Regions from separate parts of the Homo sapiens genome. Here all the other regions are linked to region 3. The links are contacts of gene promoters, found by promoter capture Hi-C in blood cells and fetal thymus (Javierre and others, 2016). All regions are on one chromosome and are shown on one strand. Each heading gives the region's core, a stretch centred on a gene start or on the middle of the fragment in contact. The rest is flanking DNA. Distances are from core to core; before and after follow the strand shown.

Region 1 (2,700 bases), core at 50-2,549, 240 kb before region 3:
AGGTAGACCTAACAGACAAAAATATAGAACAGTCTACCCAACAACAGCAGAATACATAGTCTTCTCCATGACACATGGAACATTCTCCACAAATACTAGGTCACAAAACAAATCTCAATAAATTTAGAAAGATGGAAATCATACAAAGTATATTCTCCATAATGGAATGAAAGTAGAAATCAGTAACAGAAGAAAAAGTAGAAAATCCACAAATAGGTTGAAATTAAACAGCACATTTCTAAATAACCAAGAGTCAAAGAAGAAATCAAAAGGAAAATTATAATAGAAAGTACTTTGAGATAAATGAAAACAAAAATATAATGCACCAAGATTTATGGGATGCAACTAACACTATGCTTAGAGGGATATGTATAGCTGTAAATGCTTTTATTAAAAAGAATCTCGGCCAGGCGCAGTGGCTCACACCTGTAATCCCAACAGTTTGGGAGGCTGAGGTGGGTGGATCACCCGAGGTCAGGAGTTTAAGACCAACCTGGCCAACACGGCGAAACCCTGTCTCTACTAAAAATACCAAAATTAGCTGTGCGTGGTGGCAGGCGCCTGTAATCCCAGCTACTCAGGAGGCTGAGGCAGGAGAACTGCTTGAACCCAGGAGGCGGAGGTTGCAGTGAACTCCAGCCTGGGCAACAAGAGTGAAACTCCTGTCTCAAAAAAAAAAACAACAAAAAAAAAAACCTTAAATAATCTAATCTTCTACCTTAAGAAACTAGAAAAAGAAGAGCAATCTAAACCCATAGTGACCAGAAGGAAGGAAATAATACAATTTAGAGTGAAAATAAATAGTAAAGAAAAACAATCAACATCAAAAGTTGGTTCTTTGCAAAGATCAACAAACTCAACACACCTTTAGCTAGACTGATCAAGAATAAAAGAGAGCACAGTGGCTCACACCTATAATCCCAGCATTTTAGGAGGCTGAGGTGGGAGGATCCCCTGAACCCAGGAGTTCAAGACCAGCCTGGGCAACATAGGGAGACCCTATCTCTACCAAAAAATACAAAAATTAGCCTGATGTGGTGGTACATGCCTGTAGTTCCAGCTACTCAGGAGGCTGAGGTGTAAGGATCACTGAACCCAGGGAGGTTGAGGCTGCACTGAGCGGTGATTGAGCCACTGCACTCCAGCCTGGGTAAGAGAGTGACACCCTGTCTCAATCAGTCAGTCAGCAAGAGGCCAGGTGAGGTGGCTGAAAAAACCCTATCTCTACTAAAAATACAGAAATTAGCCAGTTATGTTGGTGTGTGCCTGTAGTCCCAGCTACTCGGGAGGCTGAGGCAGGAGAATCACTTGAACCCGGGAGACAGGTTGCAGTGAGCCGAGATTGTGCCACTGCATTCCAGCCTGGGCGACAGAGTGAGACTGTCTAAAAAAGAAAATAAAGAGATAAAAATAATTAGAATACTATAAACAACTGTATGCTAACACATTTAGATAACTTAGATGAAATGGACAAATTCCTAGGAAGTCACAGACTACCAAACTTGCCTCAAGAAGAAATAGATAAAAATCAACTGACTGTAAATGTAAGGGTTTACTTCTGGACTTTCAGTTCAATTCCTTTGGTCTATAGACCTATAACGAAGAGATTGAATTAGTAATTTTAAAACTTCCTGCAAAGAAAAGTCCAGGTCCAGATAGTTTCTCTGGTGAATTCTACCAAACATTTAAAGAATTATACCAATCCTTCAGACTCTCTCAAAAAAATAGAATAGAAGAGGAGGGAACACTTTCCAACTCATTTTGAGGCCAGTATTACTCTGATACTAAAACTAGACCAAGATATCACAAGAAAAGGAAATTATGGTCTGGTATCCTTTATGAATACAGATACAAAAATACTCAACAAAATACAAGCAAAACAAATTTAGCAACACATAAAAAGGATTATAAATCATGACCAAGAGGAATTTATCTTAGGAATGCAAGGTTGGTTTAAATTTGAAAACCAATTAATATACCATACTAATAGCATAAAAGACAAAAACCACATAATCATGTCAATAGACACAGAAAAAGCATTTTGACTGACATCATTTTGTGATTAAAACACTCAACAGACCAGGAATAAAAGGGAATTTTCTCAGCCTCACAAAGGGCATCTATGAAAACCCAGTTAACATCATACTTAATGGAAGAAGACTGAATGTTTCCACTCCTAAATCAGCAACAAGACAAAGATCTTGCCACTCTGTTTACCATTGCACTAGAGATTTTATGCAGGGAAATTTAGCAAGAAAAAGAAATAAAAGATACCCAGATTAAAAAGGAAGAAGTAAAATTATCTGTTTGCAGAAAATATGATCTTATGTGTAGAAAATCCTAAGGAATCCACTTAAAAAAATTAGAAAAAATGAGTTCAGCAGTGTGACAGGATACAAAAATCAATTGTACTTCCGTATGGTAGGATTTTATCCAAAAAATGAAACTAAGGAAATAATTTCATTTACAATAGAATCAAATAGAATAAAATACTTAGGCATAAATTTAACAAAACAGTGCAAGACATACACTGGAAACTATAAAACTCATTGAAAGAAATTAAAAATGTAAATAATGGAAAGACATTACATGTTCATTGATCAGAAGACTTAAGATAGGAATATGCCCCAATTGATCTACAGAATCAGTGCAGTCCTTATCAACATCTCAGTTGTCCTTTTTGCAGATACTGACAGTCTG
Region 2 (2,700 bases), core at 56-2,555, 210 kb before region 3:
TATTCCAGGAGCATGAGACTGAGTTTGCAGAGCTGAGGGTTGTCAATTTCCTTTTCTACTGATATCTTCTTCCTTTAGAGCAAACTTCCTCCTTAGGACCTCAGAGATAAGCACAGCAGGGTCTTCCTCCTTCAATAAACTCCGGTTCCTAGAGACACAATAATAGCTTGAGTACTTACTCTTTCCTGTGTAGTGCTGTATATCTTTTGAATACATTATCTCGTTGAATCCTCACAACAATCTTACGAGGTAGGTGCCATTACAATTCCCTTTCACAGATAAGGAAATTGAAGCACAGAAAGGTTATACAAGTTGCCCAAGGTCACTAGTCACTCAGCAAGTAAGCGGTGAATCCAGAGTTCAGAACCAAACTAGCTGGTTCCAGATCTCATCTATTAACTAGAATGCTTTACTATTTCCTGAAATAGCTATAAAGTATGGGCAAAGTAAAGGACCATCAGTCTGTTAGAGTTGGCCTCTGGTGGCTAAGCTTCTGCCTTCTGGCCCTGTTTTCTTAGTAGCATTTCCCCAGAGGGTCAGCAGGGGAAGTGACTGATGACTCTTGGCTATTCTGACCCTTGATAGTTCTGGAGAAAAGGTGTGCTTGGGATTTCCTACCACCGGGTCTCCCCTTCAGGGGAGATGATTTTTTATGAGAGCCAGAATTAGAGCAAAACATTCACATAAGAAACTCATGGGAACAAAACCAACTCCAGACTGAAGTAGGCCCAAGTTATCTGATACATCATATAAGAGGGTCCTAGATACCTGGAAAATAGTTGCTTGAAATCCTAGTGAACTTATATACATTCATCATGAAGGTGTTTTACTGGTGATTAAGCTAAATATAAGAGCCAAGACTGACTATTCAACCTTCAAAGCAAAAACAAGAGGGACTGCGTTTGGTTGGTGACATATCTGAACCTTTGCTGACTGGGGTACTTTCCCATTCTTATTCACTGACCCAGCTCCTTCTGATCTGAGGACACAAGTGGGAGGAGGGGGCTAGCAATAAGGGTCTTGAATCTAATTTGGTCCAAAAGGCAAGTAAGAGAAAGTTTGAGAGTCAACCTATAAAACATTTTGTTCAGAAGAAGACAGCTCAGAGAAGACCAAAAACAGCAGCAACTGAATTTGGGAATGTGGAAGACCAAAGAGATATGGGTGAGTATGACCAACCTGACTAGGGCCAGTGAAGGAAGGTTAAGAGTGACTTCCCTAAATGGGTCAACTGCCAGGAAGCAATGAGGGAGTCACTTAGCCTGGTCTACTTTTCAGAGGGAAATGGATCCCAGGAGACAAAAAGGGATCCAGGGCAAGTAACTTTCCCTTTAACAAGAACTTTATCAACTCAGGAGAGGACCTCGCTTCCCTGTCCCCAAAACAGTTTTTCATCTGCATTAACAAACAGAGCTGCACAAGCTGGGTGCTGGCCATCAAGGTCTGGCTCTCAAATGCCCAGGAACCTGCATTCAAACCAAGCTCCTCTGGTGAGTCCTGTGCAGCTGTTGAAACCGCAACCCACAACTGGAGAAACACTATGCAATGGGGTGACTCCCTGAGGCTTCTTTGCCAGATGAAGTTTTTCAAGGTAGGTATTCCCCAAAGACCCTCATACTCCATCGGAAAAACCTAGAGCTCCACTCCTTGGGGTTCTACTTTAGTAAGTTAAAGGTGTATTTTTAACAAATCTGAGCAATTCTGATGGGCAGCTAGGTTTCGGAACTACTGGTGAGTCTCAAAAGCCTTATTCTCAAATCACTGAATGTGCAGGGTTTGTTTGCACAATGGACCACTGTATTTTAAAGCAGAAATCTCCAACTTTATGAAATTCTCCTCCCACCAAAAAAGTCTACCAATTTGAGATAAGAAAACATAACAAAACATAATGTCATGCAACCCCTCACTTTGAAGGGTGGGCCATGAAGACACTGTCACTAGCAGTATGAGGACTGAAGTGGTAAAGCCACCTGAGGACAGAAGTTGGATTAGATGAGCCTTCTTGTAAAATCCCTACTAGCCTCATATTTGGTTGGGGTGACCAAACCCAATAAATGTAGTGTTGCTCTTTCCTCAAACTGGGGCCCCAGGCACTGGCAAGCAGGTAGTCAGCAAGCTTTATGAATGACATAACATATGGTACTACTAAGAACTTACTATGTAAGTATGTTGCATTACATAATTGGCCATGGGCAACTCTGAGTAAATAGATACCAGAGCTCCTCATCAGATACTTACAGATCTTGACTCTGTTTCATTCGGTGAAAGTCCTTCAGGATACCCATCATGTCTGCAAAGCTGCTGGCCTTGGACAAAGAGACGCAGTCATCCTCTTCAGACGAACTGCAGGCAGCTTTGTGTTCTGGTTTGCAACATTCAGGGCTGGCAGAACAAAGCAGGGGGACTGATGGAAGCTCAGGGACCTCCACCTCTGTCTCCTCGGTGATGTCACTAATGACAAAGGAAGTTGTAGAGTGGAATGAGGATCCAAAACAAGGTAAGGGAGAAGAGACATTTGAACTTCCTGGAGATAAGAAATCTGGCGTTAATGAAGCCGAAGCTGAAAGAGAAAACAATAGGCATGGGTGGACATTGGGGCTAGAACACAGTAGCAATATCTTCTCCCCACAGCCCTGCCTACTGAACATTCATTTCCTGGGCTGACACCATGACAATCTGGGAGAGCCAGGATGGTATCTG
Region 3 (2,700 bases), core at 161-2,660:
CGGGCCTGGAGGCCGGGATGCTATTGCCCCGGGCCGCCGTGGCCTCCTCGCGGGGTCCAGTGGGGCGGGTGCGCCGCAGCCCCCCTTTCCTGCGGCGGGGACTGGCCCAGCTGCTGGGGTCATCCTCGCCCGGGGCCGGCGCGGCGGGGGCCGGGTTGGGAGGCGGCTCCTGCTCGCGGGCCGGGGCATGGCCGGCGATTTCAGCCACCACTTCCAGACCAGGCTGCTGGGTCCGGGGGGCCAGGAAGAGGCGCTTGAGGCGAGAGGAGTGGGGCAGCAGGAAGAGGGCCCCGAAGCACAGGGTGACCAGGCCCGAGAGGAAGAGGAGGAAGAGGAACTTCTGCGGCAGCCGCAGCCCCCACGGGGAGGCCGGGACGAAGCCGGGCACTTTCCTCATGAGCATCGTGGCCCGGCCGGTGGCTCCAGAAGCCCTCGGAGTCCAGGCACGTGTCTGCGGGGGCGCGGTGAGGGGAGGGCGTCCGGAGCGCCGCCCGGGATGGGGGTCCCTGGGCAGGGTTGCCAACCCTGAGAGTTTCGCCGCTTCGGGGGACTGTCCCCGAAGTTCAGGGAGTTTGGAGCGAGTCCTCCCGCGAGGAGGCGGGGGCGCAGCGGCCTCGGCGGGGCCCGGGCGAGCGGAGCGGCACGGCTTGGGGCCCGGGCCCGCAGCGACCGGCCGCGCGCCGCAGCCTCCCCTCCGGCCGAGCCCTCCCCGCCGCGCCGGGGCCCGCGCCTTCCCGCGCTGCGGCCGCCGGGACCGTCACATGCCGTCCGCGGCGTCCCGGCTGTCCGCGCCGAGGGGCGCCCGCAGGCCCGCACCAAGCCGCCCTCCGCCCCCTAGGCTCCCGCCCGCGCTGGTAGGCGCCCAAAGTTTCAGCTTCAGAAGCAGTTTCCGGAGGGGACCGAGGCGATGGGGGGCTGGCGTGTCAGCGCCGCCCCGAGCGCGCGCACACCCGGCCCGGTCGCGACAGCGCCCGGGCTCGACTATCGGGACACGTCCACAACTTTCTCCGCCGCGGAGAGGGCGCCGGGAGCTGGGAGCCGGAGTGGCCAGGGAGCAGGAGCAGGCACTTCCGAGCCTGCGGGGGCAGGGGGCTTCCCCCGGGCCCCAGACAGCGCAGGGATGCCTGGGTCCGGAGCCGCGGCTGGGCGGCTGCAGATGCGCCCGGGAGCGCGGGCTCCCGCCCCTCGAACTCGGCAGGGCGCGGGGCTCCCACTGGGATCACCTGTTCCCGGCCCCGCCGGCTCCGCGGAGCGCGCAGCCCTGGCCGCGCCTCCCCCGCTGCAGCTGTCTTCCTCGCAGCGGCCGCTCCAGACCGGCCGCTGCCGCCGAGCCTGCGCCCCACACGCGCGCACAGCCACCCGGCCGCCTCCACCGCCGTCCCCGCCGCCGCCGCCGCTCGGGCTTTCACTGCGACAGCGCCCGCCGCCCCGCCTCCTGCCGCCCGCCGGCCACGCCCGCCGGCCACGCCCACGCGCGCGCCCCGCGCCCCCTCCCGCCGCCGCCGCGCCGCAGCCGGCTGAGGGCCGCGCGTCCGGGGGCGGGGCAGAGGCCGAGCGCGGGCGGGAGCGCAGCCCGCTCCAAGCCCCGCCCTCCCCGAAGGGCAGGCGTCGCGCGCACCCCCCATCCAGCGGGCGCCAATGGTCCAGCGGCGCGGGGCAGGCGAGGGCGGGGGCGGAGAGCGCAACGAGGGCATTGGCTGCATCCGAGGGATCCCCGTTGGGCCACAGTCGTCCATTGGTTACTGCCCAGCCTTCGCTGGACCCCAAGCGACAGAGACCACCCCCCAGCCCGCCCGCGAGGCTCGGGTTGGTGGCCCCCGGAAGCGGGCCGGAGACGGTGTTGCTCTGGAGGGGTGTGCCCGTCGCTGGGTGACCTCTCTCGCCCCCGAGTGCCAGCCCGGGGTTGTCAGGGAGCTGGCAGCCCGCGCCCTGGCGGCTGCCCCGGGCTTCTCAGCGCTAACGCCGGGCTGCAGGGGTGCTGCTGGTGGCTGGAGCCAAGCCAGAGAGCTGTGACCGCGGCCGGGTCGGCGGAGGTGATGTTTCCACTGGCCCCCTCGCAGACCACTGGCGTGCCTTCCTTTTCCCACAACCCTAAACGGGGCCAGGGCTCCTGGGTGGAGCACGGAGGGAGGCTGACCGCAGCCTTGAGAAGCAGCGAAAGGAAGAGAGCCCCGGGCGTGTCTACAGAAGACCACACACATAATGTGACGGACGTCTACCTTGATGCCTACGTGTGTTTATATGCACATGTGTGCGTCTGGGCATAGATCTATATGCACACAGAGACTGGCATGTGGGTGTGTACATGCACTCAAACATACACTTAATTTGGGTATGGACACCCAAGTGATTATACCACAGTATGCATAGACATATATGTAAATTAGTACAAACATGGACATGTGCACCCGCATACCCACAGACACTCAGGCAACAGATAACCTCCAAAAACAGCCAGGCATCAACTCCCAGACACGCGTGTCCTCAACCCCAAGGCCCTCACATCTTCCTCCTTGGACTTAGTCTCTGCATCTTCCCTTCCTGTTAAACCTAACCCAGGGTGAAGCAACATTGTGCTGTGTGGGTCTTTCATGCAAAACACTTTATAGAGACAAATAACAGCAGAGGGAGAGACAAATTAAGAGGTTTGTAATAGGCAAGAGGGAAAATATCTACTTTCAGCTGCAATTTAAAATGAAA

What was found. Contacts are between HindIII fragments. The CHiCAGO score rates a contact against its expected background, and 5 or more counts as called.
Region 1: a contact is called between a fragment that was not itself captured here and the fragment with the promoter of MAN1C1 in region 3, in 1 of 17 cell types (naive CD4 T cells). The highest score is 5.2, in naive CD4 T cells.
Region 2: a fragment that was not itself captured here is called in contact with the fragment with the promoter of MAN1C1 in region 3 in 4 of 17 cell types (activated CD4 T cells, non-activated CD4 T cells, naive CD4 T cells and 1 more); the score reaches 6.8 in activated CD4 T cells.

Annotation. Positions count from the first base shown.
Region 1 is chr1:25,850,444-25,853,143 of GRCh38, reverse strand. The region is part of intron 1 of AUNIP (aurora kinase A and ninein interacting protein); the gene reads left to right. Among named protein-coding and RNA genes, the nearest start is that of AUNIP, 7.7 kb to the left of the region's middle. The HindIII fragment of the contact is 2,900 bases long and covers 1-2,700 here.
Region 2 is chr1:25,829,369-25,832,068 of GRCh38, reverse strand. MTFR1L (mitochondrial fission regulator 1 like) reads right to left here. Exons shown (of 7, transcript NM_001099625.2): 6 at 2,239-2,560; 7 at 1-148. The coding sequence ends at 43. It also overlaps a transcript of AUNIP not described here. Among named protein-coding and RNA genes, the nearest start is that of MTFR1L, 11 kb to the right of the region's middle. The HindIII fragment of the contact is 1,626 bases long and covers 493-2,118 here.
Region 3 is chr1:25,615,501-25,618,200 of GRCh38, reverse strand. It overlaps MAN1C1 (mannosidase alpha class 1C member 1), which reads right to left and starts at 1,410. Exons shown (of 12, transcript NM_020379.4): 1 at 1-1,410. The coding sequence starts at 403. RefSeq lists silencers at 1,185-1,474, 1,495-1,784 and an enhancer at 1,975-2,144. The HindIII fragment of the contact is 10,837 bases long and covers 1-2,700 here.